5 separate regions of the Homo sapiens genome follow, and regions 2, 3, 4 and 5 are each linked to region 1. Evidence: promoter capture Hi-C in human tissues and cell types (Jung and others, 2019). All regions are on one chromosome and are shown on one strand. Each heading gives the region's core, a stretch centred on a gene start or on the middle of the fragment in contact. The rest is flanking DNA. Distances are from core to core; before and after follow the strand shown.

Region 1 (6,311 bases), core at 1,117-3,616:
CACTCGATTATGCAGCCACCAAAGGGCTGCAGGGGCCAAAGAAGAAAAATTCGACAAATGCAATTATTTTCCGGGCCCTTCGTGGACATAGCTCTATCCTGCACCACTGCCCTGTGGGCACTTGGTAGGAATCTGAGAAAATTTTAAGCGGCTCAATTTACTTTCGTGTTATTTTTAATAACAATGACCATAGTAATGCCTTTTCCCCCTTAAAATGTACAGGCTTATTCAAATAAAATTAGAAATGCCAATGGAATATACTCATCTGGGAAATTACATTTTAACGTCATAGCCAAGGAAAAATTGGAGCTGTATTTTGAAGTCAAAAGTACTTATTTTATGTTTACCATTACGTTTTCCGGGCATAGTATGAGAACAACCACAAAACTCAGGGCTCAGTCTCTGGCAGCCTCCTTCTGGGAGTGGGGTAGGGGGTGCGATCAATAGTGAAATAATTGGAATCAAGGGCTTCTTCGAGACTTATTCTGGAAACATCTGAAAGCAAGATTGGATTGGAGGCCAAAAGAAGGGTCTAACAGAGACGGGGTGAGGCATCCAGACCAGTGCGATCGCGATCGATCGCGACCCAGAGTTTTCAAGGTCCGTCCTAAGTACTAGGGGAGCAGCGATAACCCGGAGGTAAGATCACCAGCGCAAAGCATCCCTAACCTTCTCCTCCTCCTGCTGACACCCTCCCCTCAACTCTCTGCTTATGCCGGAAGCCATCCTTACACAACCTGGTGCAAACAACCTTGAAGCGGGACGCAGCCAAAGAACACGAGATGCCATTTCTCAGCCCAATTGGAAAGAGGCCGGGAGCACCAGTTCCCTGACCCCCTCAGCCCCACCGCCTGCCGCCCCCTGGTACTGACCAGCTCCTTCTTCCTCTTCTCCTCTTTCACGTCGGTCTTCTTGATCTCTGCCTTGAAGGCCTCCGCCTCGCCATTCTGGTCGTCCTTGGCCAGCAGGTCCATGAGGTAGGCGATGTAGCTGGTGGCCAGGCGCAGGGTCTTGATTTTGGAGAGTTTGGTGTCGGCGGGTACGTTGGGGATGCACTCGCGCAGTTCGGCGAAGGCGCTGTTGATGCTCTGAGTCCTGCGCCGCTCCTTGCGGTTGGCGGTGCCTCGGCGCTTCACCGGGCGCGGCCCCCCCAGGCCCGGGGGCCCGGCGCCCGGCGGCACCCCCCCGTAATGGGAGTGGTCCAGGCCGGCGGCGCCGCTGGCATACTCGGGGCTGTAGGACAGGGCCATGCTGTAGTCGGGGGGCGACATCTCGGGGTGGCCGATGAGCCAGCCATGGAAGTAGGGGTTCTCCTCATGGCTGCAGCGGCTGGCGGCGGCGGCGGCAGCTGCGGCGGCGGCGGCGGCAAACGGGTAGCCCTCGTGGTGCACCACCGGGTGGTGGGGAAAACCACCTACCAGACTCATTTCGCCCTCCGCGCCCCTCCACGCGCCCCAGCGTGCGCGCAGCCCCGCCGCGCCCTCGGCCCGGGCCCCTGCCTCAGCGCTCGGCGTCCTCCCCCACCCCCCACCCCCCAGCCCCCGGGCGCCCGGGCCCGCCCGGCAGCCGCAGAGGGGGCTGCTGCAGCCCGGGCCCCGTCCCCCCGCCTGGCCAGCCGGGCCCGCCTCAGCAGCGCTGCGGCCGCCGGCTCCCCATGGGGCGCGGCGAGCTGGTCCTGGCACCGTGCGCCCCTGGCCGCCGCCGCCGCCGCCTCCGGTTCCCGCCTTGCTCCACGGCCCGCGCTTCGGCTCCTGCTTCCCGGGCTGCTGCGCGGAGGCAGAATCCTCTCGTGCTCATACAAAGGTGCCGGGGCTCCCGCGAGGCTGGTACGCGGAGTCTCGGGAATCCAAGCCCGGGCCGCGGTCCTGGCACCGAAGCTAACCCGGAATCCAGGGGCGAGTCTGAGCCGCGGCTGGAGGAGCCGGTCCAGCTGTGCCGGGGGGCGGCGGGGTCGACTGCTCACTGCAAAGCTACCTCCGTGCGACCCTCCCCTTCCCGCCTCTTCCCCTCCCCCCACCAGCCCGATCTGGGTTCTTGGGCGCTTATTGTTTTAATGAAATTTTTGGTTGTTGTTGTTTTGGTCCTTAAATGTGATTTTAGCTGCGAGTAACGTGTCCTCGCTCCTCTCGCGCTCTCTCGGAGGGTTTTCAGAGAGGTCTCAGTGCATCCATTTTCTCAGATCCTCTCCTTTCGGGGCAAGGATCTGGGGCCCTGAATGAGCCTTGGAGCTCGAAGACCGCGGCTCGGGCTCTCGGAGGGCTCTGCGCGGTGGCCGAGGAAGCTCCGGGGTGACGGCGGTGGTTCTCCTGGGCTGGACGACGTGAGGGGAGCAAGCGGATTTTCCCAGCAAGATCTCCATGTACAGCTACATCTTTAGGGCCGCTCGGGTTAATATATGTCGTCAGAGGCTCCTCACGCCAATCCCGGGGCGGCAGGGGCGGCGCCTCGAGCTCTCGGCAATAAAACTTTTTGATGTTCACGTTGCTAATTGCCGAGGTCCTCTTCCAGGATTGGCTACCTCCTCATAACCATAAGATAATTAAAACTTGGCGGGGGGGGGGGGCAGGGTTAAAAAAACTTTTTTTATCAGTCAGAGGATAATGCAAGTGTTTAACAGATGCTTCACTATTAAAATATTTTCCCCCCAAGTCTCAAATATTGAAGAATCTCTAACCAGGTACAGTATCACTCTGCTCTCTTTTCTGGTTGAAAAGAAAGAAAGAAAGAAAACGCAGGTATTGCTTTTCGAAGTGCTTTGTAGGTAATCGAGGTAAGAAAATATACGCAGGCAGCCTCTTACAATTTTATGCAGGGGCGCCGGGAGCCTCGTGACGGGCGGTGGGGGCCCCCACAAAGGCGCGGCTGGGAGCTGGCGCTCTTTGCCCCAGCAGGGACGAGGAGCGGCTGGAGAAGGGTGTTTCTTTGACCCGTTTACAGGCTCGAAACGCCGGTCTCAGTGGCTATTGAGTTACCCACCAAGTTACCCCGGTTAGAGCTGTTTGGGGTGGCTCACGTTATTGCGGCAAACTTTGGAGATGACGGCTGAGTCCTCCGGGCGAACATGTCAAGCCGATTGTAAATGCTGTTATTTCCACATCCTTCAGGGACACCAGTCCCTACGAAGACCTTGGGCGATTTTGAAGTGCGGGCACCTCGATTCCCCGAATCTGTAGTGTGGCTGGTATCGGTGTTCCCCTGGTTTAACTAGCCTGTTTGGTAAGTAACTGAATATTTTTTACGGCGTGTTCAGAGCTTATTTTCCAGTTTTTATGAACAAACATATAAATATATCTCTGCATTCCTGCCTCCCTCATAAAAGCGGGCATCTGTGGAAAGCAGGTTTAGTTATCGGAGGGGAACCATTAAACGCCAGTTTAAGAGGCAGGCCGGGAGGACGGCTCGTGGATGTTGAGACTGCTGGCCTTGGTGATCTTGAACGCATTATAACGGAAAATGGATCTCCACTTGTAAGTCACCGGGCCGCGGGGCACCCGGGCCGCAGCGCCCGTGTGGCATGAGCTTCTTGAGAAGGCTCACGTGCGGCGAGGGCGGGTGGTAAATGGCAGGAGCTGAAATCACCCCAGGCTTGGCCCCAAGCCGAGAGGGGAGGCTGATGTGTATATGCAGATTCCACCCGAAGGAGTTCGGTGTGGAAAACGGTGTCAACAGGAGCCCGCGGGCTGTAAATTAGAGGGAGGCGAGGGCCTGCGGCGCCAGCGCGGGACAGGGCGGCCTGGGGCTCGCCGCTGGTCAGGCCAGGTTAGCCCAAGGGAGACCAAAGACTCCACCTTGAGCATCGCCCTTTGGAGGCGGGCAGAGTCCGGCCGCAGGCCACAAAGCGATCCCCACCCGAAGGACTCCACAAGGACAGTCCTTTCCTTGCTCACCGCCGACAAAGTGGTTGGGGCAGGAAGGCGAGGTCAGTGCGAATGGAGGGCGCCCAACTTCGGTGTTGCAGTTGACTCTGTGCTCGGGCTCTGCCCTCCACTAGCCCTAGAGTCTTGGGCAGCAGGATTGAGAAATATATATATTTCAGGTTTGCCGCGGCTGGGCGGTAGGAGACAGGGACTTAAAAGCCCAGGATTAGAGTCGGTGCAGGGCCCATTCTTTTTCTAGGAAAGGGGTTAACATCCTTGAACGTCCCCAGACAAGCGTCTTAAAGCATTGAACCTAGAATAGGGATTAACTGAAACTAGGCTCGTTGGTAAGCGCCAGGGGCTTGCAGTTGAGCTCGGAACAAAATAGTGACCTACTGCTCTAAACCCCCAACTTGCGTGGGTCTGCAATTTTTTAGCACAAGGAGAGCCTTTTAAAGACCTGGTTCTTCAAGGAAAGAATGCAGGTAGTGTGGTTGGGGGTTCTGTTTACATTTTCACCCGGAGGCAAACCCCGAATGTGTAAATACTGGTAGTTCAATTCTCTGACATTTGATACGTTTTTGAAAAGTCTGTTTATAAAAACACATTTAGGCCTTGGGAGCAGGTAGACAAAGTAAGATTGCACTGGGGCTGGGAACATATAAAAATTCAGGGAAATTAGTTGGTTGGCTGCTTTAAGACCCAAAGGGAGTTTTGGGAATTGAAGGGAGGAAGAAGAGTCCAGAGGAGGGCTGAGTTAGGGATTGAGATGCTCTGTCCACCAGAGACCAGCGGTGAGTGGCCTCACTTTTGAAAGCTTCAGAACTTGCCACATTTAGCTTTTCTCATGCTTTTAATTGAAACAAACAAACAAACAAAAATGAATGAATTACCTCGTGGCTCCAGATAGCATTGCAAGTGGTAAAGGAAATGGACAACATGGTACAGAAAAAAGAAATCATAAAAGATGCTAATCTGAACATCAGTTCTCACTCACAGTGTCATTATCAGTTAACTGCTGTGGTCCAAGGGCCTAAGACTTGATGTGGCTCAGAAACCCAAATCCAGAGGTCACTGCCTTAGAAAGCTGGCTTGATGAGAGGGGACAAATGGATGAACCCTAGTGGTGTCCCCAACTGTAGTAACTGACTCAGGGAGGCCAGGCTGGCCCTGACTGGTTGAGCTCTACCCTAAATGCACAAACGCATCCACTTTTCTCTTGCAGTGTCCTTTGGCCTGTTTTGTTCCAGGTTTTCCAGGATACTGGGTTAGCCTGCTCCTTTGGGAAGTTGTGAAGCAAGGATGCCATCTCAAGTTTGCCCTCAATTTAGGTGTCCTGGGCATCCTGGTGGTAGTGATGGAGGTGTTGGCAGTGGTGGCAATGAAGGAGAGGGTGGTGTTGGTGATGAGAGGGAAAGTGGGAGAAGAAAGGGAGAAAGGCACAGTCCCTGACATCGATGTCAGCATGGGGACCCCACTCCTGGGCTGCACTAGTGTAGCTGCTGATGCACATGTTGTAAGTACTCAAAGGCCCAGGGAACTGGCTTGCTGGGGGCTCCTCTGGGTGCCTGTGGAGGAATCTTAGCTAGGAGTGCTTCTCTGCCTCTCCTCAGAGGCTGAGGGCTGAGCCAAAACCGGCCTTACTCGTGTCCAGAAACTGCTTCACAAGGAGGCAGCCCAGGTTTGGGTGAGTGTTTGGGATTCTGTACCTTTGTTGTAGCTGATGGTGTACCTACTGTACTGCACATGTCAACTGCCTTCAGCCAAATAGACAGAATCTGGTTCAAGCATTTATTTTGCTCCTCATGTCTCTTGTCTCTTTGCCGTCACTGCTACTTCTTTCTCTGGAAAAAGACGGAAAGAGCAGCAGAGAGGCTGAACATGGCCATGCAAACATTTTGGTCTTGTGAGATATTATTATACTTGAAAAAATCAATCTGGTTTAAACTAATTTTAAAAAAATCTTTAGTTAGGTTTTAGGGAAAATACAGATTGTCTCAGGGTGTTTATTATTTCAAAGGCAAGGGCAGTTTATATCCTCTGTTTTGCTCATAAGAACCCAAAATAAACTGGACCCAAAAAGAATCAGGCCAGAGGGTCATAAATGCACATTTTATGTTCATGGGAATTATGGCTCAATTCTCATCATCGTCTTTCAAATCTTGTTTCACCTTGTTTTTCTAACCAACATAGTGGAAGTGACTCTGACCGTTCCCTTAAGAATCTTTAATGCTCTTACATGAGATGAGCCTCAGAACAAGCTAAGAACCATCGAAAGAACATCAAGCCTGGAAGGTGACAGAAGGAGCAATGTGTTCTTGAAGATGTCACCTCAGCCCACCTGCTCCAAGGACAGTGCTTCTTGCGACACTCTGATAGCTCTGCATTCTTTTCTGTACCAGGGTAGGGTGGAGTCATTTTACATGCTATCCACTTAGTCCCAGGATGTTTAGG
Region 2 (6,311 bases), core at 2,402-4,901, 740 kb after region 1:
TTTTATCAACTCGAGTTGACTACTAATACCTGTGTGTTTCAAAAACTTGGAAAAAATACTAACTTTCCCATAAAATCATTAAAATAGTCAAATAATTTTTATAGCATGACCCGAACTTAAAATATAATGTGGCTTCAATTAACTGTTTACAATAAGTACTAACAAAAACAAAAGCAAAAACCCCAAAAGACAAAAAACAAACCAACAACAGTGACTAGATATCTTTTAATCAGAAATAATTTGAAAATTGAGTGGAACTTCAAAGAATGTCAAAGATTGTTGTTGATTAAAACAGAAAAAATAGTGGGCAGACTAGAGCATGCCTTCTTCTGGTGTCTTTTCCCAGGTACTTCTGAAGAATCCATAGGGATTTTATTTTAGTATTTAAAAAGGTATAATCCACGCATTTATTTACTAAACCATTGGCTATTATTTGGGTAATGGCCACTAAATTCGGTCATTTGTTGATTAAAACAGAAAAAATAGTCCAGGATAATTTTTAACTCTTCCCCCACCTTATATTGCACTGCTTGGAATCCCAGCAGCTTAAGCTATACAGGTATGGTGGGGAGGTACAAAGAGAAGAAACATATTAATAATTTTAAAATGTAGGCACATTTGTTTTTGAAAAGAAGGCACAAAAGATAACCCTTCTCTCCCTACTACACACGACACCATGGTATTTTTTCCTAAATCAGTGGTTAAGCTATACAAATAAAATTCTTAAAAAAAAAAAAACAGAATATCGGGAAAATAAAAAGACAAGCCACGGACCAGGAGAAAATCTTTGCAAAACACATATATGATAAAAAGACTGTGCATCCAAAATATGTGAAGAACTCTTAAACCTCAGCAGTAAGAAAATAATCCACTTTAAAAATGAGCAAAAGATCTGAATAGACGCCTCACCAAAGAAAATACACAAATGGCAAATAAGCACATGAAAAGATGCTCAACATCATATGTCGTGAGGGAACTGAAAATAACATAACTATGAGATACTACTACACACCCATTAAAAGAGTATATCCGAAACAGTGACAATACCAAATGCTGGCAAGAATGTAGGAATGCAAAATGATACAACCACTTTGGAAGACAGGTAGTTTCTTTAAAAATTAAACATACTTTGTATGATTCAGCATTAGCTGAATCATTTACCTAAATAAAAGCTTTTTATTTAGGTATTTACCTAATTAAAAGCTTTTTATTTAGGTATTTACCTAATTAAAAGCTTTTTATTTAGGTATTTACCTAATTAAAAGCTTTTTATTTAGGTATTTACCTAATTAAAAGCTTATGTCCACACAAAAACCTACACGTGAATGTTTAAAGCAGTTTTGGTAATTAATTTTCAAATCCTGTAAGCAACTACGATGTACTTCATTATGCGAATGTATAAATAAGCTGTGGTACAGTATATCTATACAATGGGAAATTATTTAGCACTAAAAAGAAATGAGCTATCAAGCAATGAAAAGACATGGAGGAACTTTAAGTGCCTATTATTAATGTTAAGTAAAAGAAGCAAATCTAAAAAAGTTCTTTACTGTATGATTCTAATTATAAGACATTCTGGAAAAGGCAAAACTATGGAGACAGTAGAAATGATCAACGTACAAAAAATAGAGAATGTCAACAAAAAATTATAAGTACAAGTTTTATATTTGTTTAAATGTACCATGTCACATTACAACATTAAGTACAACTTAATTTTGACACAAATTGAACATTTTAAGTCTACTAATCATAAAGAAAAGTATTTTATTTTCACCATTGCTATTCCTCTATTTAACTTAGCAAGAAAATATCTAGAAATCACATTAATTGCTGAGCTCACCTAGCACAGCTGTTATTTTAAATAATTAAATTTATTCTCTTTTGTTTTTGTACCACTAAAGGTAAATTATCAAACATGGTAACTGCAGTATCTGAAGTCTCAATATTTAAAACATTTATAACAATTTCAGTCTATTTTCCTACAGAATCTTTCTAGTGGCATATGGTTAAGCAGCTGTTGCTACTCTTAGGCCTGTTGCTAGGGAACAAAGAATCAGGGTGATTTCCCTAGGCTCCGGACTTTAATGGGGATCACTTAAATTGAACACACTGGATAATATGATTCAGAAAGCATCCGGCAGGTAGAAAGAGGTAAAGCCAGCAGCTGGTTCTTTAAAAAATAATAATAATAATAATGGGGAGGTTGGAGGGTTGAGGCTCATGTATACATAGTTCAGACAAAGAAAACTGCAAAATTATACCTTATTTTCTGTATTCCTACTGCTAAACAATACTGAAAATTGTCCCCTTGGGACTTTCGTTTCCCTTTAAAGCAGTTCTTGATCCTGGGTAAAAACACAGTAATGATAAAGCACTCTGAGAAAGAGTAACATCATGAGTTTAGCATTTGGAGAAAGAAAAGGGAGTCTGTAGCGTTCTGCCCCCATTCCCTATCTTCCTTAGCATAATAGGGATGTGAAACATGGGTGTAACTGTCAGAAAAGCTTTAAAACTCTCAAAATGACGTGACATCCATTGTATAAGTTGTAAAGCAAGTCATGGAGGGAGTATAGTGGTATGGGTTTTGAAGTCAGACAGACCTGGGTTTAAATCCTGACTTTATTAGTTCTTACTTACAGGACCCTGGGAAAGTTACTTGACTACTCTGAGCTTTAGTTTCTTCATGTACAATGCAAAAAATAATAATGATAAAAATGTCTATAGCTCAAAAAGCTATTGTGTTAAGTAAGATAATGTACATAAAGTTAATTTCATGGCTAACAGTTAACTAACAGTCAATACGTTAGATATTACTTTGACAAGCATATTTTTATCAAGTGAAAATAAGCACTTTCATAAAGCTTATTTAATGATACTTAAACTGTTCTGATGTCCTGCCTGTTGAATAAGCTTATTTGTTCATGTTGCTACTTGCACAGCTTTGTAGGGCCTCTACACACAATTCACCTCCTTTAGTTATTTCATATTGTGACCATGTTTTTATGTTGTTTCTTCTTGTAAATCCAATTCTTTTATATCAATGACCCAGCAACAACAACAAAAAACTCTAGAAAACAAAAAAAGGCTGTGTTGTCTTTCACAGAAAATTTTAAAACTCAGCATGCCTGAGGATGGTGCCAATAGCAGTTCCATGAAATAGGTCTTTGTGTTATTGTTAATAATCTGTCAAGATGTGGCTAGGTATGGTGACTCATGTCTGTAATCCCAGCACTTTTCGAGAAGCTGAGGCAGGAGGACTGCTTGAGACCAAGAGTTCAAGACCAGACTGGGCAACATAGACCCCGTTTCAACAAAATACAAAAAAAGTTAGCTAGGTGCGATGGTGCATACCTGTAGTCCTATCCACTCAGGAGTCTGAGGCAGGAAGATCACTTGAGCTCAGGAGTTTGAGGTTATAGTGAGCTATGATCACACCACTGCACTCCAGCCTGAGTGACAGAGTGAGACCTTGCCTCTAAAAAAAATTAAAATTAAAAATTAAAAGAAAATAAACTGTCAACACTAGCTCTAAAAGAGATGTAGAATATGATGCAGTTTCATGCGGGGTTCGTCCATGATTTCAAACTCTTGAAAATAGTGTTTAGACTGAACCAATTAAAACTTAATTTCAAAGTATAAAGTTTTCAGATTTGTGTTAAAAGTTTTAATAATATCTTGGTATAAAGATTTTAAAACTGAAACATAATATTATAAAAGATATATTACTGTCCTGTCACTTGCAGCAATTGTTAGGTAAAATAAAATTCAGCTGCAATGTGGAATCACTGAATATGCAAAAAGTTTCAAATTCAAAAAAAATTCAACACAAAATAAGTTTTTGTATTTGAAATCACTAGTTTTGGTGTAAATATGGATTTTGTGATGAAACTACAGCTTTATTTGTTCACTCAAAATAGGTGGAGAAAATAGATATTTATTTCTTTGAAAAAATATTTACTCTTCTAAGAGCATAGTCTATGTTAGTCTATCTCATACAGAAATAAAAGAAACACGGTTGCTTCTTGTTATTCATGGCAATTATGTTCTTTAAAGTTTCTGCAAACACTGAATTAGCAATACTGAACCATTGTTCCTAGGGAATTACAGGGTTAGGTTACTGTAAGCCTCTATTCACAATATTTTCATTAACTGATCAATACATAACCTTACTGTATGTGTGTTTCTGCTGAAAGACATTTAATACATATTGCTAATTCATTAACTGTGAACTCATGGCCAACCGCACTATAACTCAGGCTTGAATGAGGCTTATCTAACATGTATTTTATCCATAAGGCACAACACTTAGGAAAACTAGATAACGCTTCTGCACTAGGCTTGGGGGCCATTTTTTGTTTTGTTTTGTTTTGTTTTGTTTTTGAGATGGAGTCTCGCTGTGTCGCCCAAGCTGGAGTGCAGTGGCGCGATCTCGGCTCACTGCAAGTTCCGCCTCCCTCCCAGTTTCTCGCCATTCTCCTGACTCAGCCTCCAGAGTGCTGGGACTACAGGCGCCTGCTACCACGCCCGGCTAATTTTTTGTATTTTTTAGTAGAGACGGGGTTTCACCGTGTTAGCCAGGATGGTCTCCATCTCCTGACCTCGTGATCCGCCCGCCTTGGCCTCCCAAAGTGCTGGGATTACAGGCGTGAGCCACCGCGCCCGGCCGGGGGCCGTTTTAAACACTAAAATCACCAAGAAAAAGCATGTGGGAAATGTGGCATTAAATAAGCCACAAAAAGGACACTTGTTTATAATGACAGCTAAGATAAGAAGGCAGAGCCTTGCCTTCAACTTCAGCTGCGAATGTGCACCTTGAACAACAGTTTTTTCAGCTCTTGCGCATGTTTGCTAAAGGCGGCAGAAGCACCAGGCGTACTCCTTTGGGAGATACAAATAAATGTTAGTGAGTAGGTAAATTCACAAATACAAAATTATAAATAATGAAGATCAACTGTAATTAATACAATTCAAGGTGTCCCATGCCTTTTCTTCCAAATTTGAATTTATTTTGTTCAAAGCTTCTTTATCATGTTGAGAGGATCTATAGAATTCTTTCTAAGGAGCTTCGAAATGAAACCAAACATGTTTTTTCTTGGTCTACAAACACAGAAACATAACTTCATTATTTATCATCTGACAGAAGTAAACAAAAATTTCATAATTACTTAGGTCACAGAGAGAAATTATGCTACAAAAAAATTCTCCATAAGATTTCAAAGTTGAAACTCTTCCTTTCCAAGGAAATAAAAACAAAAAAAAAAATGGGGGAAAAAACCCCAAAGCAATCGCAACTGTACATTTTCTCCTTATTTTTCAGAATGGTAATAAAATGCGGCCAGGAGTGGTGGCTCATGCCTGTAATCTCAGCACTTTGGGAGGCCGAGGCGGGCAGATCACTTGAGGTCAGGAGTTCCAGACTGGCCTGTCCAACATGGCGAACCTCGTCTCCACTAAAAATACACAAATTAGCCTGGCATTGTGGTGCACGCCCGTAATCCCAGCTACTGGGAAGGCTGAGGCAGGAGAATCACTTGAACCCGGGAGGCAGAGGTTGCACCGAGCCGAGAATGTGGCACTCCAGCCTGGGCAACAGAGTGAGACTCGTCTCAAAAAAAAAAAAAAAGAATGGTAATAAAATGAATACTTACAACTGAAGATTTAGATACTATTTAGTAAACTTAAATTGATAATTTCCAGAGAATGATTAGCACAAAATAGAATAAATCAGAACTCCTTTATAAATTGGATGAAGCATCAAATGAAGCAACAGCCAAATAGGCAAACGAATATGATCCCAGAATTTCTACTCCCTGAAATTATGCAAATATAACTATCAATTAATTATAACCATTTTAATACAGCAGTCAACTAATGCTCCTTGTGTCTCAGAGCTATTATATACTGTTTTGGTTTAAGGATAAAATATTCATGTTCAATTCTGTACTACCTGCAAATACACTCAGGGAGCATGGTAGTAAACAGGAAACTTAGAAGCCTGACATGAATGGCTACTGAATGGCTACTGAATGTGGACTGGCAACCAAACTGTGCGACCTTGAACACTCAGTGGTATTGTGTATAAACATGCCACATTAGCCGAGACAGAGCTATTTTATTAAATTAATCTCATGTATAAGAATTTCATATTTTGGTTTATTATCATAGCTTACATTTCAAACTTAACTTTCTGTTCCTAAAGTCCTATGCTGCTGTGGCACAGTAGCTGGGAAGACGTAAATGGAAAGTAACATGATTTTAGGAAGAGTCCAGCATTATTAAAAAATAATGCCTTTGAGAGGTATTTATCTAGA
Region 3 (6,311 bases), core at 2,306-4,805, 560 kb after region 1:
TTGTTTTGCTATAATTTTGTTTAAAAAAAAAAGATTGTTGGCTGGGCGCAGTGACTCACGCCTGTAATCCCAACACTTTGGGAGGCCAAGGCGGGTGGATCACCTGAGGTCAGGAGTTCAAGACCAGCCTGGCCAACATGGTGAAACCCCGACTCTACTAAAAATAGAAAAATTAACTAGGCATGGTGGCACATGCCTGTAATCCCAGCTACTCTGGAGGCTGAGGCAGGAGAATCACTTGAACCCAGGAGGTGGAGGTTGCAGTGAGCTGAGATTGTGCCATTGCACTCCAGCCTGGGTGACAAAAGTGAAACTCCGTTTCAAAAAAAAGAAAGAAAGAAAGAAAAAAGAAAAAAGAAAGATTTATTCACTAGTGAGCTCTTCTCAACATTTAAGGAACAAGTGATACCAATTTTATACAAACTCTTCTAAAAATTGAAGAGTTCACTAGTACACTGATATTAAAACCAGGCAAAGACCTTATGGAAAAGAAAACTGGGCCAGATGTTTTGGCACATGCCTGGGCTGCTTGAGGCCAGAAGTTTGAAACCTGCCTAGGCAACATAGCAAAACCCTGTCTTTACAAAAAATAAATAAATAAAAAATAAAGTAATTAAAAGTTAGCTGGGCATGGTGGTATATGCCTATAGTCCTAGCTACATAAGAGACTGAGGCGGGAGGATTACTTGAGCAGTCTTTAATTGCTTCAGTTTGAGGCAGCAGTGAGCTATGATCATGCTACTGCACTCCAGCCTGGGCGATAGAGCAAGAAGACTCTGTTTCAGAAAACAAAACAAAAGAAAAAAGAAAACTAAAGATCACTATCTCTCATTAGTATAGATGCAAAATCCTACACAGTATTTTAGCAAATTAATTCAAGCAATATATTTAAAAGGATAATGCTTCATAATGAAGTAGATTTCATCCCAGAAATATGAGATTTGTTTCAATATTTAAAAATCCATAAATGTAACAGTTTCTCAAATTTTGCTTGTTTCGATGACCTAGGCAGTTTTGAGAATTACCAGTTGGGTATTTTTTAGAATGTTCTTTAATTGGAATACATATGAAAATTTTTAAATAATTAGTCTGGAATTATGGGAATAGGAAGAAGAACACAGAGGTAAAGTGCCTTTTTTTAATCACATCATTTCAAGTGGACATGACATAAACGTCACTATCACTGTTGATGTTGACCTGGGTCACTTGGCCAAGGTAGCAATTGTCAGGTTTCTTTACTGTACAGTTATTCTTTTTCCCTCTTTTCATATTGTACTCTTTTGAAAGAAATGAGTATGTTCATGTCCGACTTAAAGAGCATAGAGTTATGCTCTTCCTCATTGAGGAAGTAGTATCTACATAAATTCTTTCAAATTTTTCTGCACAAAAATTTGACTCTTCTTCCTCATTTAATTATTTTTTTATTTTACTTATGCTTTAAGTTCTGGGATACATGTGTAGAACGTGCAGGTTTGTTACATAGCTATACATGTGCCATGGTGGTTTGCTGCACCCATCAACCCATAATCTACATTAGGTATTTCTCCTAATGCTATCCCTTCCCTAGCCCCCGACCCTCTGACAGGCCCTGGTGTGTGATGTTCCCTCCCGGTATTCATGTGTTCTCATTGTTCAACTCCCACTTATGAGTGAGAACATGTGGTGTTTGGCATTCTGTTCCTGTATTAGTTTGCAGAGAATGATGGTTTCCAGCTTCATCCATATCCCTGCAAAGGACATGAACTCATCCTTTTTTATGGCTACATAGTATTTCACGGTGTATATGTGCCACATTTTCTTTATCCAGCCGATCATTGATGGGCATTTGCATTGGTTCCAAGTCTTTGCTATTGTGAACAGTGCTGCAATCAACATACAGGTGGATGTGTCTCTATAGTAGAATGATTTATAATCCTTTGGGTATATAGCCAGTAATGGGATTGCTCGGTCAAATGGCATTTCTGGTTCTAGATCCTTGAGGAATCTCCACACAGTCTTCCACAATTGCTGAACTAATTTACACTCCTACCAACAGTGTAAAAGCATTCCTATCTCTCCACATCCTCTCCAGCATCTGTTGTTTCCTGACTTTTTAAAGATCGCCATTCTAACTGGCGTGAGATGGTATCTCATTGTGGTTTTGATTTGCATTTCTCTAATGCCCAGTGATGATGAGCTTTTTTTCATGTTTGTTGGCCACATAAATGTCTTCTTTTGAGAAGTGTCTTTTCATATCCTTCACCCACTTCTTGATGGGGTTGTTTGTTTTTTTTCTTGTAAATTTGTTTAAGTTATTTGTAGATTCTGGATATTAGCCCTTTGTCAGGTGGATAGATTGCAAAAATTTTCTCCCATTCTGTAGGTTGCCTGTTCACTCTGATGATAGTTTCTTTTGCTGTTCAGAAGCTCTTTAGTTTAATTAGCTCCCATTTGTCAATTTTGGCTTTTGTTGCTTTAGTCATTTGCCCATGTCTGTGTCCTCAATGGTATTGCCTAGGTATTCTTCTAGGGTTTCTATGGTTTTAGGTCTTACGTTTAAGTCTTTAATCCATCTTGAGTTAATTTTTGTATAAGGTGTAAGGAAGGAGCCCAGCTTCAGTTTTCTGCATGTGGCTAGCCAGTTTTCCCAAGATCATTTATTAAATACAGAATTTCTTCCCCATTATTTGTTTTTGTCAGATTTGTTGAAGATCAGATGGTTGTAGATGGGTGACGTTTTTCTGAGGCCTCTGTTCTATTCCATTGGTCTATATATCTGTTTTGGCACCAGTACCATGCTGTTTTGGTTACTGTAGCCTTGTAGTATAGTTTGAAGTCAGTTAGCATGATGCCTCCATCTTTGTTCTTTTTGCTTAAGATTTTCTTGGCTATATGGGCTCTTTTTTGGTTCCATATGAAATTTAAAGTAGTTTTTTCTAATTCTGTGAAGAAAGAGCTATGATGACTAAATGTAATGCCTTAGGATGGGTGGGATTCTGAAACAGAAAAAGATGTTGGATAGAAACCAAGAAAATCCAAATAAAATATGGAGTTTAGTTAATAATAATTTGTCAGCATTGTTTCCTTAATTGTAACAAATATACCATACCAATGTAAGATGCTAAAAGGGAAACCAGGTGTGGGGTACACAAGAATTATCTATAATATGTTTACAATTTTTCCGTAAATCTAAAGCTGTTCTAGAGTTTTAAGTTTATTTGTTTTTTAAATGCCTCAGTTTGGAGGCACCATATACCGATCCTTGAAAGGATGTGGTCAGGTCTCTCAGAAAGAGTGAAGAGGCCAGGCGCAGTGGCTCACGCCTGTAATCCCAGCACTTTGGGAGGGCAAGGCAGGTGGATCAGGAGGTCAGGAGATTGAGACAATGCTGGCTAACATGTTGAAACCCTGTCTGTACTAAAAATACAAAAAATTAGACGGGTGTGGTGGTGGGCGCCTGTAGTTCCAGCTACTGGGGAGGCTGAGGCGGGAGAATGGTGTGAACCCAGGAGGCAGAGCTTGCAGTGAGCTGAGATCAGGCCACTGCACTCCAGCCTGGATGACAAAGCGAGACTCCGTTTCAAAAAAAAAAAAAAGAGAGAAGAAAGTGACTGGATAATTGACCTGGTATTTACATTATTGGGAAGCACTGACCCTATCTAATGTTGGATTTCTGGGCTTCTGGTGTGCTCTTTTCCTTTTTCTCTCCTGTTCTCAATCAATATTGTAGCCCACTCTCCCCAGAAAAGAGCTTTTGGTGACTTGGAAATGAATGAGTTTCATTCCCCCTGCCTGAATTATAGATTTAACTGTAAAAGAGATACCATCTAATTTTATTACCGATACCACTAAAGCATAACCCTAGTTTGGGGAGAGATCTGATCTTTATGCGGTTTGCGGAGTAGAATGTAACCACCAATTTGTTTCTGGTATTGCTAAATGAACTAGACTTATACTTTTGTTGTTGTTATACTACTTATAATTGCTCTTTTGTTACTTTAAAAATTCAAATAGTTGTAATTTCATCTGGTTTGACCAAATAATAATGTCAAGAATAAAAGGGAATAAACATTTATTTGAGCATTGAAAAAGAATCCATAAGTGTAATTCATCATATCAATAAATTAAATTTGACTACAAAAGAAAAGCCATATGATCATCTCAATAGATGTAGAGAAACCATTTGACAAAATTCAATGTCATTAGTGCATGGTAGAAACTCCCAGGAAAGTATAAATAAAAGGGAACTTTCTCAACTTGGTAAAGGGCATCTACAGAAACTGTACAGTTAATCTTATTACTAATGGTATGTGATAGTGAAAGCTTTCTCCCTAGATATTAGAATCAAGAAAAGATGTCTGTTTCCAATACTTTTATTCAACATTATTCTGGGGATCTTAGTCAGTACAATAAGCTTTGAGAAAAAAGAAATAAAATACAAACAAATTGGAAAAAAAGAAATAAAAGAGTACTTGATTATAGATGACATGACAGTCTTGGTAGAAAATCCTAAAGGATCAAAAAAACCGTGGCCAGGCATGGTGGCTCACGCCTGTAATTCCAACACTTTGGGAGGCCGAGGCAGGCAGATCACTTGAGGTCAGGAGTTCGAGACCAGCCTGACCAACATCGTGATTCCCCTGTCTCTACTAAAAATACAAAAATTAGCCGGGCATGGTGTTGCGTGCCTGCAGTCCCAGCTACTCTGAAGGCTGTGGCAGGAGAATAGCCTGAACCCAGGAGGCAGAGGTTGCAGTGAATGAAGATTGTGCCACTGCACTCCAGCCTAAGCAAAACAGTGAGACTCTGTCAAAAACAAAAATGTCTAGAAATAATAAGCGACCATAGCAAAGTCACAGGATATAAAGTCAGCATCCAAAATATATTGTAGCTGGGCGCAGTGGCTCATGCCTGTAATCCCAAGACTTTGGGAGGCAATGATGGGAGGATCACTTGAGGCAAGGAGTTTAAAACCAGCCTGGTCAACATAGCAAGACCCCGTTTCTACAAAAGAAAAAATTTTTTAAAATGTTAGCTAGGTTTGGTGGCATATACCTGTAGTCCCAGCTGCTGGGAAGGCTGAGGAAAGAGATTAGCTTGAGTCCCGGAGTTCGAGGCTGCAGTGAGTCATGATTACGCCACCACACTTCACCTGCGTGACAGAGCAAAACCCCTAAACCCTGTCTCAAAAGAAATTTTATATATATATATATATATATATATATATATATATATGACATTAAAAAGATCAAATTGTAAACTGCCTCTGAGAAATTCACCTGACCAGTAAAATATATATGTAAAATATATATAAATAGATAACATATAAAAATATATATGGAATATATAAATATATAGATAATATATAAATAAATATACATATATACGATATATAAATATATGACATACATATAATATAAAAAGTATATTTATATATTATATATTCTATATATAATTTTTATTTGAAATTTCACGATATATACTGTTTTCATGTATTAGAATGTAACAATTAGAAATTTTCAATAAAAATAACAGCATCAAAAGCTAAATATTTAAGGATCAATTTAACTAAATCAGTGAAAAATCCTGGAAATTTCAAAACATTGTTTAAAAAAATTAAAGAACACCTAAACAAATGGAGACATATACTATGTTCATGTATTGGAAGGTCCAATATTGTAAAGAAATCAATTCTTCACAAGTTATAAATTCAGCATAATCTCAATCAAAATCCCAACAAGCTTTTGTTGTAGAAATTGACAAGCTGACTCAAAAATATATATGAACATGTAAAGTACCCAGAAAAGACAAAACAATTTTTATCTAATTTTTTAGATTGACAAATAGTTATTGTACATATTCTTAGGATATATAATGAGGTGTTGATAAATAGACAGTGATCAGATCAGCATAATTAGCATATCCATCATCTCAAATTTTTATCATTTCTTTGTATTAGGAACATTCAATATCCTCCTTCTAGCTATTTAAACTACATGATATATTATTGTTAACTATAGTCATCCTACAGTGGTAGAGAACACAAGAACTTCCTTTCATCCAGTTTAACTTTTATATTCTTTAACAAATCCCTTCCTATCCTTCCCTTCCCCCAAGTTTTCCCAGCATCAGGTATCCTCTGTTCTATTTTACTTCTATGAGTTCAACGTTTTCTTACCTTCCAAATATGAATGAGAACATGTAGTGTTTAACTTTCTGTTCATGGTTTATTTCACTTAACATAATATCCTCCAATTCTATTTATATTTTCACAAATGATAGCATTTCATTTGTGAGGAGGCAAAACGTAAGAAATTACTCAATAGGCAGCC
Region 4 (6,311 bases), core at 2,763-5,262, 550 kb after region 1:
CTGTCCATGGACAGCTTAAGTGGTAACAGCTCAGTGGAGGGTCATTGTGACAACATTTTGCACCTGCACTCATGGCACCCAAGTTCTTGTCCAGTATCCAGAAGGAATGAGATCGCATGAACAAATTGAAGATGGTAAACAAGGGGGATTTTATTGCCATTGAAAGTAGCTCTCAGCAGCAAGGGGAGCTGAAAAGGGGATGGAGCCGTAAGGTAATCTTCCCCTGAAGATTCCCCGTGGATGGCCAGACTCCTCTCCAAAGCTACGCTGTCAAGCTGTCCCTCTGAAGTAAAGACTCTTCTGTCTGACGTCCTACCATAGTCTCTGACATCCAGCTACTTCCCCTCCTTCTGCTGGCTGAGCCTGGGGTTTTTATGGGCACAGAATGGGGGTGGGGTAGGCCATGGGTGGTTTTGGAAAGGCAACATTCGAGCAGGAAAACAGGGATGTAAGTTCTCACTTTGGGCTGCATTGACAGGCTTTTCAGCTTAAGGGTGGGGCCCTCACCAGGGACCTGCCCTCTTCTGCCCAGAATTTCCCTGCCTCCTGTCCCTATCAATAGCTATATGACCTTGGGCAAGACATTTAAATCTTCTGTGCCTCAAATTTTTCTTCTTGGCAATGGGAGTATAGCACCTACAGTCAGACTGGTTGAATGATTCAACACAGTAATATATTGGAAAGATCTTGCCATGATTCAATAGACCTTCTTTCTGTTCCCCTTTTCCCAACTCACCAGAAAATTTAAAATATAGTTAACTAACCAATTCTGTTAAAGTCAAATAAAGTCCATACATCAAAATTTGAAAAAATAGATGCTAGAATTCTTTAAGCTACTCTTTTACTCACAATTTTATGTAGGACAGCAAAGCTTAAACTTTGTAATGGAAATGGTCATAAGTTACTACGTAGTTATATGTAGTTATGTAATAGCCAATAATTCCAATAAATTATCTAAATTTCTATCACAAAGGAAATAACTAAAACATATTTTTTACCCTTAGTACTAAAATTTATTCTGAAATAAAGGCACAATGAAAGAAGAGATCATGACAATGGGAGTATTCTAACGCATATTAATTTTTAAATTAAATAGTATTAATGTCTCAGTAGGAATGAATCTATGCTTTTTTGACTGAGAGAACAATTTCATGTATAATCTCTGACAAGATAAATACCCTCCTTGCAGTGGAATCTGTTGTTTTACAATTAATTAAATGTTTTAGCTAGGTTAAATCTCAATCTCTGCCCAAATTCTTAAAGCAATATGAATTTCTACCAAGATATTGAAACACCTAAAACATTTTGTCATCTGGCAATTTCTGTAGTATCTTCTTAATCGTATGTTTAGATTAATAACATTTTCTAATTTTAGTGGAGTCTGATTTGTCAATTTTTTTCCTGAAGGGTTAGCACATTATTTGTCTAACGAACTTTTAGAAGTTATTTTTTTCTCATCTAAGCATTTATTATTTATTTAACAATATTACTTCAGTGCCTTCTGGGTCAAAAATAGGATATAAAAGTTCTCTCTCTGCCTGACTCATTGATGAGAGACATGGATCTTCTGCCCTTGGACTGGGACTTACTTCATTGATGCTCCTGGTTCTCATGCCTTCAGACTCAGACTGGCATTTATTTAATACAACACTGGCTTTCCTGGGTCTCCAGCTTTCAAACAGGAGATCATGGGACTTCTCAGCCTCCTTAACTGTATTAACCAATTCTTATAATAAATTTATAAATATATATGTATAAACATGCATATGTGTGTATACATATATCTCCTATTAGTTCTATTTCTTTGGAGAACTCTGACTAAAGAATGTGAGATAGAGATTAAATGATAACTTTATTTCCCATGTTGATATTCAATTGATGTAGTACAGTTTACTGCAAGTACAATCATTCTTCACTGCCCTGCAGTGTCAATTTTTTATAAATTAATTATCCTTATGTGTGTGGTCTGTTTCTGAACTGTCTATTCTGTGCCTTTGGTATATTTGTGTATGTCTGCCTAAATTCTACACTGTCTCAATCGTATTAACTTTATATTAACTTACAGAAGAGAAATGACTCCTCAAACTTTATTTAGCATTTTAAGATCGTCTTAGACATTCATGGCTCTTTGACTTTCCATAGAAACTTTTGTATTTTTCACAGAGACAGGGTCTCACTTTGTTGCCCAGACAGGTCTCAAACTCCTGGCTTCAAGCGATCCTCCCACCCCTGCCTCCCAAAGTGCTGGGATTACAGGTCTGAGCCACCATACCACAGACTAGAACCTTCTTTCAGTAGAAGGCTGTTTTATCTACAATGAAAATTTGTTCTTTAGTTCAGCCACCTTCATCAATTACCTTAGTTAGATCTTCTGGATTACCTGCTACAACTTCTCCATCAGCACTTGCTGCTTCACCTTGCCCTTTTAGGTTATGGAGACGTCTTCTTTCGTTAAACCTCATAAACCAACTTCTTCTAGCTTCCAACTTTTCTTCTGCAGCCTCCTCACCTTTCTCAGCCTTCACAGAATTGAAGAGAGTTAGGGCTTTGCTCTGGTATAGGATTTGGCTTAAGAGAATATTGTGACTGGATTGATCTTCTATCCAGACCACTCAATTTCCTCCATATCAGCAATAAGGCTGTTTTGCTTTCATATCATTTGTGTGTTCACGGGAGTAGCACTTTTAATTTCCTTCAAGAACTTTTCCTTTACATTTATGATTGGCTGACTGTTTGGCCTAGCTTTCAGCCTATTTCAAGTTTGGACATGTCTTCCTCACAAGCTTAATTATTTGTAGCTTTTAATTTAAAGTGAAAGACATGTGACTCTTCCTTTCACATGAACACGCAAAAGTCATTGTAGGGTTATTAAATGGCCTAATTTCAATATCTTTGTGTCTCAGGGAAGAGAGGCCTGAGGAGAGGGAGAGAGATAGGGGAACAGCCTGTCAGTGGAGCATTCAGAGCACACACACTTATGGATTAAGTTCGCTGTATTATAGGGGTGTGGTTTGTGGTACTCCAAAACAGTTATAATAAAAACATCAAAGATCACTGACCACAGATCACCATAACAGATATAATACTACTAACAATAAAGTTTGAAATATTGCAAGAATTACCAAAATGTGACACAGAAACACAAAGGGAGCACAAGCCAGTGGAAAAATGGCACCAATAGACTTGCTCAACACAGCGTTGCCACAAACCTTCAATTTGTAAAAAACACAATATCTGCAAAGTGCAATAAATCAAAGCATCACAAAATAAAGTATGCTTGTACTTATATATCATATCTTCATTATTATTCAGTTTTAAATATCTTCTAATTGCAATTATGTTTTGCTGCCCCATATATTTCTGCAAAATTACGTTGGGGATTATATTGAAGATTTTCCAGTTAATCTTTTTAAATTTAGTATTTTTATGATGAATTTTAGCAAATGTTTAAAATACATTTGAAAAGCATAGGCATTCTTTGGTTACTGTGTACAGTGGTCTGTATCTATTGATTATATCAAGTAACTTAATTGTGTTTATAACCCTATAATTTTTTCTTGCCTGTTCTATCAGTTATTGAGGGATGTTTGCTAAAATCTTCAAATATATTGTGGATATTCTGCTGTCCTTTTAGTTACATCAATTTTTGCTTTATGAATTTTCAGGCTATGTATTAAGTACATGCAAATTCAGAATTCATAAGTCATTCTACTGAATGGAAAATTTTATCATTCCAAAATGTCCTTCTTCAGTTCTAGTAATGTCTCTTGCCCACAATCAACTTTGTCATTCATTTAAATATATCAGATTTCCTTTGGTTAGTTTGTACTGTGTGTGACTTTCCATCCTTTTTTTTCCTTTTTTAAGGCATGTATCTATTAAGTATTACATAGTTGAATTTCTTAAGGAGTCTGACAATTATTGCCTTTTAATTAGAGTCTTTATTATATTGATATTTAATATAATTCCTGCTGTATTGGGATTTAAATCAATGCCTTGCTTTTTATTTATTTTTCTGCATCCAACGTGTCTGACATTCCATTTTCCTCCTCTCTTACTTTCTCTATGGTTAATTAAATATTTTGTCTCATCTTATTTATCATTCTGTTTCTTCCTGGTAACATTAATATTTTTAGTCATTAGTCAGAGATTACAGCATGAATCCTTGACTTATTAAAATCTAATATAAATTAGCATTTACCACTTTCCAGATATTGCTAGAAGCTGAAAATAATATAACTGCAATTACCTAGCTTACTTGTTGTACAATTATTCTTATGTATTTTAAATTGACATATATTTCAAACCCCCTGTTAAAAGACAAACTTCAGCTGAATTAAATTTAAAGGAGTTTAATTGAGCAATGAATGATTTGTGAATCAGGCAGGCCCCCAGAATCACAGTAGATTCTCAGAGACTCAAGGGATGCCTCATGGTCAGAATAAATTTATAGACAAAAATAAAAATGATGTACGGAAATTAGAGGTGAGGTACAGAAACAGCTGGATTGGTTGCAGGTTGGTGTTTACCTTATTTGAACACAGTTTGAACACTCAGCAGCTTATGGTTGAAATATGGCTGATAAGACTGACCAAGACTCAGCCACTGTTACAGGCACATACTCCAAAGTTAGGGTTTCAATCTTGTCTACCTACTAAGTTAGGTTGCAGTTTGTCCACAAGAACTCAAATATAAAAGTACAGAGTCCTTCTCAGGCCATATTTAGTTTGCTTTAACACTCCTAAAGCAATTTATACAATTAATTTTCATTTCTATATACTCAAATATTTACCCTTTATTTTGCTTGTTTTTCTTAATGCAGCTACATGGTTCCATCTGGATCATTTCACTTCTGCTTAAAGAAATCCTCCTGAATATTTGCTGCTTTGGTAGATAATCAACACCTTCAGACAATTACTTTAAATTTTTGTTTAGATTTTCTAGTTATTATTGGTAGGACTTTTGGTCTGAAATAAGCTTGTCTGATATTGCTGGAAGCAAAAGTCTCACAAAATATCTCCCTCTCAAACCTTTCTCCCAGATTCATATATTCAAATACCTGCTGGACATCTCCACGTAGATGTCTAACAGCTCAAACCATATTGAAACCCTGGTCCTTCCCTCCCCCTCCACAACAAAAATCTCACTCCACCCATATCACTTCCATCTTACTTGACGAAAATGCCAACCTTTTAGTTGTTTGACCCCAAATTTTGGAGTCATCTTTTATTCCTGTCAGAAACTGTTGGCTCTATCTTCAAGACTTGTCCAGAAATCAACCATTTCCCTCCATCTGTACTGTTACAACTCTGATCCGAATCACTATAATATCTTTTCTGGATTGCTACAATAATTCCCTGATAGGTCTCCCTGAGTCTATATTTGATCCCCACAGAATGCTCAACAGTGCAGCTAGAATGACACTTTTACTGGTTAAATCACATTATGCCACTTATCAGCTTATACCACCCAATGCCTGCCCATCAGACTAGCCAAAGATCTTACTATAACTTGCAAGGTCCTCCTGGATCATCGCCTCCTTGCCTTTGATTTCATCTTCTACCATTTTCACTGTGCTCCATCACACTAGCCTCTTTCTGTTTTTAAACATAAAAGGCATTTTCATTCCCACATCTCAAAGTCCTCGCTCTAGCTGTTTCTTTTGCATGGAAGTCTCTTCCTCCTCATAATCTACTGGCAAACCTTTACCCTCTTGAGTCATTGCTGAAATCCTACCTTTTCAACAACCCCTACCACGATCAATCTATTTAGATCTGCAACTCACCCCAACTTCTGCATGGCCCTCTCAATCTCCCTTACTCTGCTCTACTTTTTTTTCTATTGAATTTTTCATCTTCTAAAGTAAAATGTGCTTATTTTTATGGTTTATTTATATTTGCCTTCAACTACTAGAATATGTGTCCCAAGAAGAAAGGGGTCTTTGTGTTTTTCATAGATGTATTCCAAACATCCACAACAATGTCGAATATATAACAGGCTCCCCATATATATATCTGTTGAATGAAGAAGTGAATGAATGAATAAATGCCTTCCTCTTTCTACACAGTCCTGCTTAGAAGGTGAATGAGACATTTGGTTTTCTTGAACATGGAGAATATATACCATTCCCTAGGGTATTACCGTTTGTATCTGCTATAAGAAATTACCACAAACTTGATGACTTAAAAAAACAAAAATTTATTATCTCACAGTTCTGGAGGCAAGAAATAATCAGATTGCTGGGCCAAAATCCGGGTATCCAGAGCCACACTACTTCCAGAGGTCCTAGAGGAGAATCCATCCATTCCTTG
Region 5 (6,311 bases), core at 2,390-4,889, 520 kb after region 1:
ATAAGGTCGTGTGGGTGGGGCCCTAATTAAGTTAAAATGAGATCATGGGAGCGGGGTCCTAATGCAGTGTGACTGGTGCCCTTATAAAAAGAGAAAACTTGGACAAGCAAGAGAGATATCAGAAATGCACACACACAGAGGAAAGATCATGTGAGGACACAGGGAGAAGGTGGCCATCTGCAAACCACAGAGATATGCCTCAGAGGAAATCAAACCAGCTAACATCTTACTTTTGGGCTTCTACCCTCCATAACTGTGAGAAAATAAATTTGGGTTGTTTAAGCTCCACAGCCTGTGTTATTTTGTTATGGTAACACTAGCAAACTAATACAGCAGGAAAGGAGGGGAGAGAAGCAGCAAATGATTGATAAACAGATACAAGTTGATATATTAAATGATATAATGAAGTCAATATAATAAATTCATAATGATGTTGATATAATGAAGTTTATGTAAATTGATGCAATGAAGTCCAAATATATAAGCAATTCAAGTAAATTAATCTGGCATACCGTAAGAGATTAGCAGATGGATTTTTTTAAATCCACTGCATGATGTTTACAAAACACACACACTTGAATACATGTACATACACACACAATTGCAACTAAAACAAAACTGCAGAGAAAATTTGCAAATATAGTGATGAAAAATATATTATGCAGATATTAGATGAGTTTGATACAGCAATGTTAATATCAGACAAAATAAGCTTAAAATGAAAAAATTATTACTATGAATAGTGGCATTCCATTATTTTAAAAAGAAAAATAAATCACAATGTTATCATCCAAAATAGATTTCTACTTAAAGAAAAATTGTCAGAATTGCAAGGAGAAATTGACAAGTTCATAGTCACAGTGAGAGTTTTTATTATACCCACAAATTGACAAAATAAGACATAAATGATTTAAACAACAAAAATAACAAAAGCACCTTGAAGCCAATAAGTGGAAAAGGTATATTTATTTCAGCAATTTGAAACATTTTCAAAAGTGGGTAACATGACTTTTTTAAAAATAGATTTTAGTTTTTCAGAGCAATTCTAGGTTCAAAGCAAAATTGGATGAAAAGTACAGAGGTGTCCCATGTACAGTAGTGGATGCCTGAAAGCCTGGATATACCTAACCCTACAGGTAATATGTTTTATCTGTATGTACATACCTATGATAAAGTTTAACTTATGAATTAGGCACAGTAAGAGGTTAACAATAACTAGTAATAAAAGAACAATTATAACAATATAGTGTAATAAAAATTATATGAATGTGTGCTCTCTCTCTCCCTCAATGTATAATATTTTTGGACCGCATTTGATTACAAGTTTCTTTTTCTTGTTTTATTGACTAGGATTATTAACTAGGACTTCTAATATGATGTTGAAAAGCAGTGGTGAGACGTTCTTGCCTTGTTTCTGATCTTAGTGAAAAATCTTCAAGTTTCTCACTATTAAATATGATGTTAGTTGTAGGTATTTTGTAGATATTTTGTATTAAGTTGAGAAAGATCCCCCCCGTTCTTTGTTTACTGAGAGTTTTTATCATTAATAGGTGCTGGATTTTGCCAAATGATTTTGCTGCATCTACTAATATGGTCAAGTGATTTTCTTCTTTATCCTATTGATGTGGTAGATTATATTAATTGATTTTTGAATATTAAATCAGCCTTGCATACTTGGGATAAATCCCACTTAGTTGTGATATATAATTCTTTTTATACATTGTTGGATTCAATTTGCTAATATTTTATTAAGGATTTTTGCATTATGTTCATGAGAGAAATTGGTCTGTAGTTTTCTAATAATATTTTTGCCTACTTTGTGTATTAGTATAATGCTGGCCTATAGATTAAGTTAGGAAATATTTCCTCTACTTCTATCTCTTGAAAGAAATTATATAGAATTAGTACAATTCCTCCTAAAATCGTTAGTAGAATTCACCAGTGAGCCCATCTGGCCTGGTGCTTTCTGTTTTGGAAAATTATTCAGTATTAATTATTAATTAAGTTCAATTTATTTAACAGATATAGGCCCACTCGGATTGTCTATTTCTCCTAGGGTGAGTTTTGGCAGGTTGTGTGTTTCAACAAATTAGTCTATATTATTTATGTTATAAAATTTGTAGGCATAGAGTTATCCATAATATTACTGTATTATTTTGTTAATCACTATAGAACCTGTAATGATACCCTATCTTTCATTTCAGCTATGAATGATTTGTATTCTTTTTTCTCGGTTAGGCTGGCTAGAGGCCTATCAATTTTATTGATCTTTTAAAAAAACAACTTTTGGTTTCATTGATTTTTCTCTATTGATTTCCTATTTTCAATTTCATTTATTTCTTTGCTATTGTGAATACTGCTGCAATAAACATATGAGTGGGTGTGTCTTTATAGTAGAATGATTTATAATTTTGGGGGTATATATCCAGTAATGGGATTGCCTGGTCAAATGGTATTCCTGGTTGTAGATCCTTGAGGAATCGCCACACAGTCTTCCATAATGGTTGAACTAGTTTACACTCCCACCAACAGTCTAAAAGCATTCTTATTTCTCCACATCCTCTCCAGCATCTGTTGTTTCCTGACTTTTTAATGATCACCATTCCAACTGGTGTGAGATGGTATCTCATTGTGGTTTTGATTTGCATTTCTCTAATGACCAGAGATGATGAGTTTTTTTTCATATGTTTGTTGGCTGCATATATGTCTTCTTTTGAGAAGTGTCTCTTCATATCCTTTACCTACTTTTGGATGGGGTTTTTGTTTTTTTTCTTGTAAATTTGTTTAAGTTCTTTGTAGATTCTAGATATTAGCCCTTTGTCAGATGGATAGATTGCAAACATTTTCTCCTATTCTGTAGATTGCCTGTTCACTCTGATTATAGGATAGTTTCTTTCGCTGTGCAGAAGCCGTTTTTAGTTTAATTAGATCCCATTTGTCAATTTTGGCTTTTGTTGCCATTGCTTTTGGTGTTTTAGTCATAGTCATTGCCAATGCCTATGTCCTGAATTGTATTGCCTAGGAGTTCTTCTAGGGTTTTTATGGTTTTAGGTCTTACGTTTAAGTCTGTAATGCATCTTGAGTTAATTTTTGTATAAGGCGTAAGGAAGGGGTCCAGTTCTCTGTATTTCCTGAATTTGAATGTTGGCCTGCCTTGCTAGGTTGGGGAAGTTCTCCTGGATAATATCTTGAAGTGTGTTTTCCAACTTGATTCCATTCTCCCCATCTCTTTCAGGTACTCCAATCCGTCATAGTTTCGTTCTTTTTACATAGTCCCATGTTTCTCAGAGGTTTTTTGTCCATTCCTTTTCATTCTTTTCTCTCTAATTTTGTCCAATTGTCTTATTTCAGCAAGATAGTCTTCCATTTTTTATATTCTTTCTTCCCCTTGATCGATTTGGCTATTCATACTTGTGTATGCTTCACAAAGTTCTTGTGCTGTGTTTTCAGCTCCATCAGGTCATTTATGTTCCTCTCTAAATGGGTTATTCTAGTTAGCCACTCCTCTAAACTTTATCAAGTTTCTTAGCCTCTTTGCATTGTGTTAGAACATACTCCTTTACCTCAATGAGGTTTGTTATTATCCACCTTCTGAAGCCTACTTCTGTCGATTCATCCATCTCATCCTCCATCCAGTTTTGTGCCCTTGCTGAAAAGTTGTTGCTATCATTTGGAGGAGAAAAGGCACTCTGGCCTTTTGGGTTTTCAGCATTTTTCCATTGATTCTTTCTCACCTTCATGAGTTCATCTATGAAATCATGTGCAAAATCACAAGAATTCCTATACACCAATAGACAAGCAGAAAGCCAAATTGTGAATGATCTCCAATTCACAGTTGCTACAAAGAGAATAAAATAAATAGGAATACAGCTAACAAGGGGCATGAAGGACCTCTTCAAGGAGAACTACAAACCACTGCTCAAGGAAATAAGAGAGGACACAAACAAATGGAAAAACACTCCATGCTCATGGATAGGAAGAATCAATATTGTGTGAATGGCCATACTGCTCAAAGTGATTTATAGATTCAATGCTATCCCCATCAAGCTTCCATTGACTTTCTTCACAAAATTAGAAAAAACTACTTTAAATTTCACATGGAACCAAAAAAGAGCCCATATAGCCAAGACAATCCTAAGAAAAAAGAACAAAGCTGGAGGCATCATGCTACCTGACTTCAAACTGTACTACAAGGCTACAGTAAACAAAAGAGCATGGTACTAGTACCAAAACAGATATATAGACCAATGGAACAGAACAGAGGCCTCAGAAATAATGCCACCCATCTACAACCATCTGATCTTTGACAAACTGGACAAAAACAGGAAATGGGGAAAGGATTCCCTACGTAATAAGTGATGTTGGGAAAACTGGCTAGCCATATGCAGAAAATTGAAACTGGACCCCTTTTTATAAAACTAATATAACATTGATCCTCAAATCACATTCATTACTGACTTTTTAAAGTTCTGAGTCAAAACTACAGGAACAGTTTTCTAACCAGACAAAACAAACTTATCTAAAAACTGTAGTAAAATTCATTTCAGAAATGATGGTGTGAGAGTATGACACATAATTTCCCAAGAACAAAAAATTTACCGGCTAAAAATTATTTTAAAACAAATATTTAAAGTTTCTGTAAATTTGCCAAGGAGAAATCTTCTTCAAATAGCAAATGAAGAAACATATATTCAAAAAGATTTAATAAATCTTAATATGATCAGTGAGAATCTGTGGCATTTGAGCCATGACCCACTCATAACTCCTTCCTCCAGCTCAGTGTGTTAACAGTTTTACTCTTGGCATGTGCAGCCAAGAAGGTAGGGGTCTCTCTCCACCTTGCTTCCCACACAGAGATATGGTTTCATGCTGGGAGGGACAGACCACTAGCATTTTTCATCCCTATCTTCTGTTCCATATTTCAGAAGCAATATTCCAGACAGACATGGCTGAAAGAATCTATCTCCCTTCCTCCTCTCAACCCCCACTAACAGAGAAGCTCTACCAGAAGGAGCGTAGGCTGAGAATACAAGGCCTTAAATGCTTCCATCAAAACTCACTTGTAAATGAGAGAAAATATTCACAAATATCCACAAGCTATGCATAGACAAAGGTCCAATTTATCCAGCATCTATAAGGAAATTAAACAATTCAACAAGCGAAAAACAACCCCATTAAAACGTGAGCAAAGGACATGAACAGACACTTCTCAAAAGAAGATATAAATTCAGCCAATAAGCATATGAAAAAAATGCTCTGCATCACTAATCAATAGTGAAATGCAAATCAAAACCATAGTGAGACACCATCTCACACCAGTCACAATGGCTATTATTAAAGAGTGAAAAAATAACAGATACTGACAAGGCTATGGAGAAAAAGGAACACTTACATGTGGATGGTGGGAACGTAAATTAGTTTAGCCATTGTGGAAAGTAGTTTGAAGATTTTTCGAAGAACGTAAAACAGAACTACCATTTGACCCAGGAATCCTATTGCTGGGTATATACCCAAGGGAAAATAAATTGTTCTGCCATAAATACACAGGCACTCACATGTTAATTGCAGCACTATTCACAATAGCAAAGGTATGGAAACAACAAATGTGCCCATCAGTGATGGATTAGATTTTGTTAAAAAAGTGCTACATATACACCATGCAACACTGTGCAGCCATAAAAAAGAACTAGATTATGTCCTTTGCGGGGTCATGGATGGAGCTGGAGGCAACTATTCTAAGCAAATTAATGCAGAAACAGAAAACCAGTACTGTATGTTCTTAGGTATAAGTGGGAGCTAAACATTGGGTACTCAGGGACATAAAGATGGGAACAAACACTGGAGCTAGAGAGGGTCGAGAGAGAGAGGCAAAGGCTGAAAAACTACCTATTGGGTACTATGTTGACTACCTGGGTGACGGGATCATTTGTACCTCAAACCTCAGTGACACACAATATACTCATGTAACAAACCTGCGTATGTACTACCCAACCTAAAATAAAAGTTGAAAATTTTGAAAAGTCAATGAATGCTACAAAAGTATTTTTATAAAAATAAAATTAAAATAAAATAAACTCACGTGTAAAGATTCCATACTAGTAGGAGCAATTTAAGAAGACCAGGGTAGACAGGGCATGGTGGCTAACATCTGTAATCCCAGCACTTGGGGAGGCTGAGGAGGGTGGATCACCTGGGGTCAAGAGTTCAAGAACAGCCTGGCCAATATGGTGAAACCTCGTCTCTACTAAAAATACAAAAATTAGCTAGGCGTGGTAGCTCTCGCCTGTAGTCCCAGCTACTTGGGGGAGGTT

What was found. Contacts are between HindIII fragments. The study calls those that stand out against the background at their distance.
Region 2: a contact is called between a fragment that was not itself captured here and the fragment with the promoter of HAND2 in region 1, in 3 of the 25 tissues and cell types used here (dorsolateral prefrontal cortex, mesenchymal stem cells and spleen).
Region 3: a fragment that was not itself captured here is called in contact with the fragment with the promoter of HAND2 in region 1 in 1 of the 25 tissues and cell types used here (bladder).
Region 4: a contact is called between a fragment that was not itself captured here and the fragment with the promoter of HAND2 in region 1, in 3 of the 25 tissues and cell types used here (dorsolateral prefrontal cortex, lymphoblastoid cells and mesenchymal stem cells).
Region 5: a fragment that was not itself captured here is called in contact with the fragment with the promoter of HAND2 in region 1 in 1 of the 25 tissues and cell types used here (spleen).

Annotation. Positions count from the first base shown.
Region 1 is chr4:173,527,863-173,534,173 of GRCh38, forward strand. It overlaps HAND2 (heart and neural crest derivatives expressed 2), which reads right to left and starts at 2,367. Exons shown (of 2, transcript NM_021973.3): 1 at 873-2,367. The coding sequence starts at 1,427. It overlaps HAND2-AS1 (HAND2 antisense RNA 1), which reads left to right and starts at 2,509. Exons shown (of 5, transcript NR_136196.1): 1 at 2,509-2,677; 2 at 3,105-3,216. The HindIII fragment of the contact is 12,639 bases long and covers 1-6,311 here.
Region 2 is chr4:174,264,071-174,270,381 of GRCh38, forward strand. All of the region lies in intron 1 of FBXO8 (F-box protein 8), which reads right to left. Among named protein-coding and RNA genes, the nearest start is that of FBXO8, 16 kb to the right of the region's middle. The HindIII fragment of the contact is 4,929 bases long and covers 1,188-6,116 here.
Region 3 is chr4:174,090,323-174,096,633 of GRCh38, forward strand. LINC02268 (long intergenic non-protein coding RNA 2268) reads right to left here. Exons shown (of 5, transcript NR_125896.1): 5 at 4,338-5,131. Among named protein-coding and RNA genes, the nearest start is that of LINC02268, 130 kb to the right of the region's middle. The HindIII fragment of the contact is 3,001 bases long and covers 2,056-5,056 here.
Region 4 is chr4:174,073,355-174,079,665 of GRCh38, forward strand. LOC107986204 (a long non-coding RNA gene) reads right to left here. Exons shown (of 3, transcript XR_001741466.1): 2 at 2,381-2,519. Among named protein-coding and RNA genes, the nearest start is that of LINC02268, 140 kb to the right of the region's middle. The HindIII fragment of the contact is 4,370 bases long and covers 1,828-6,197 here.
Region 5 is chr4:174,047,488-174,053,798 of GRCh38, forward strand. No RefSeq gene overlaps it. Among named protein-coding and RNA genes, the nearest start is that of LINC02269, 150 kb to the left of the region's middle. The HindIII fragment of the contact is 8,130 bases long and covers 1-6,311 here.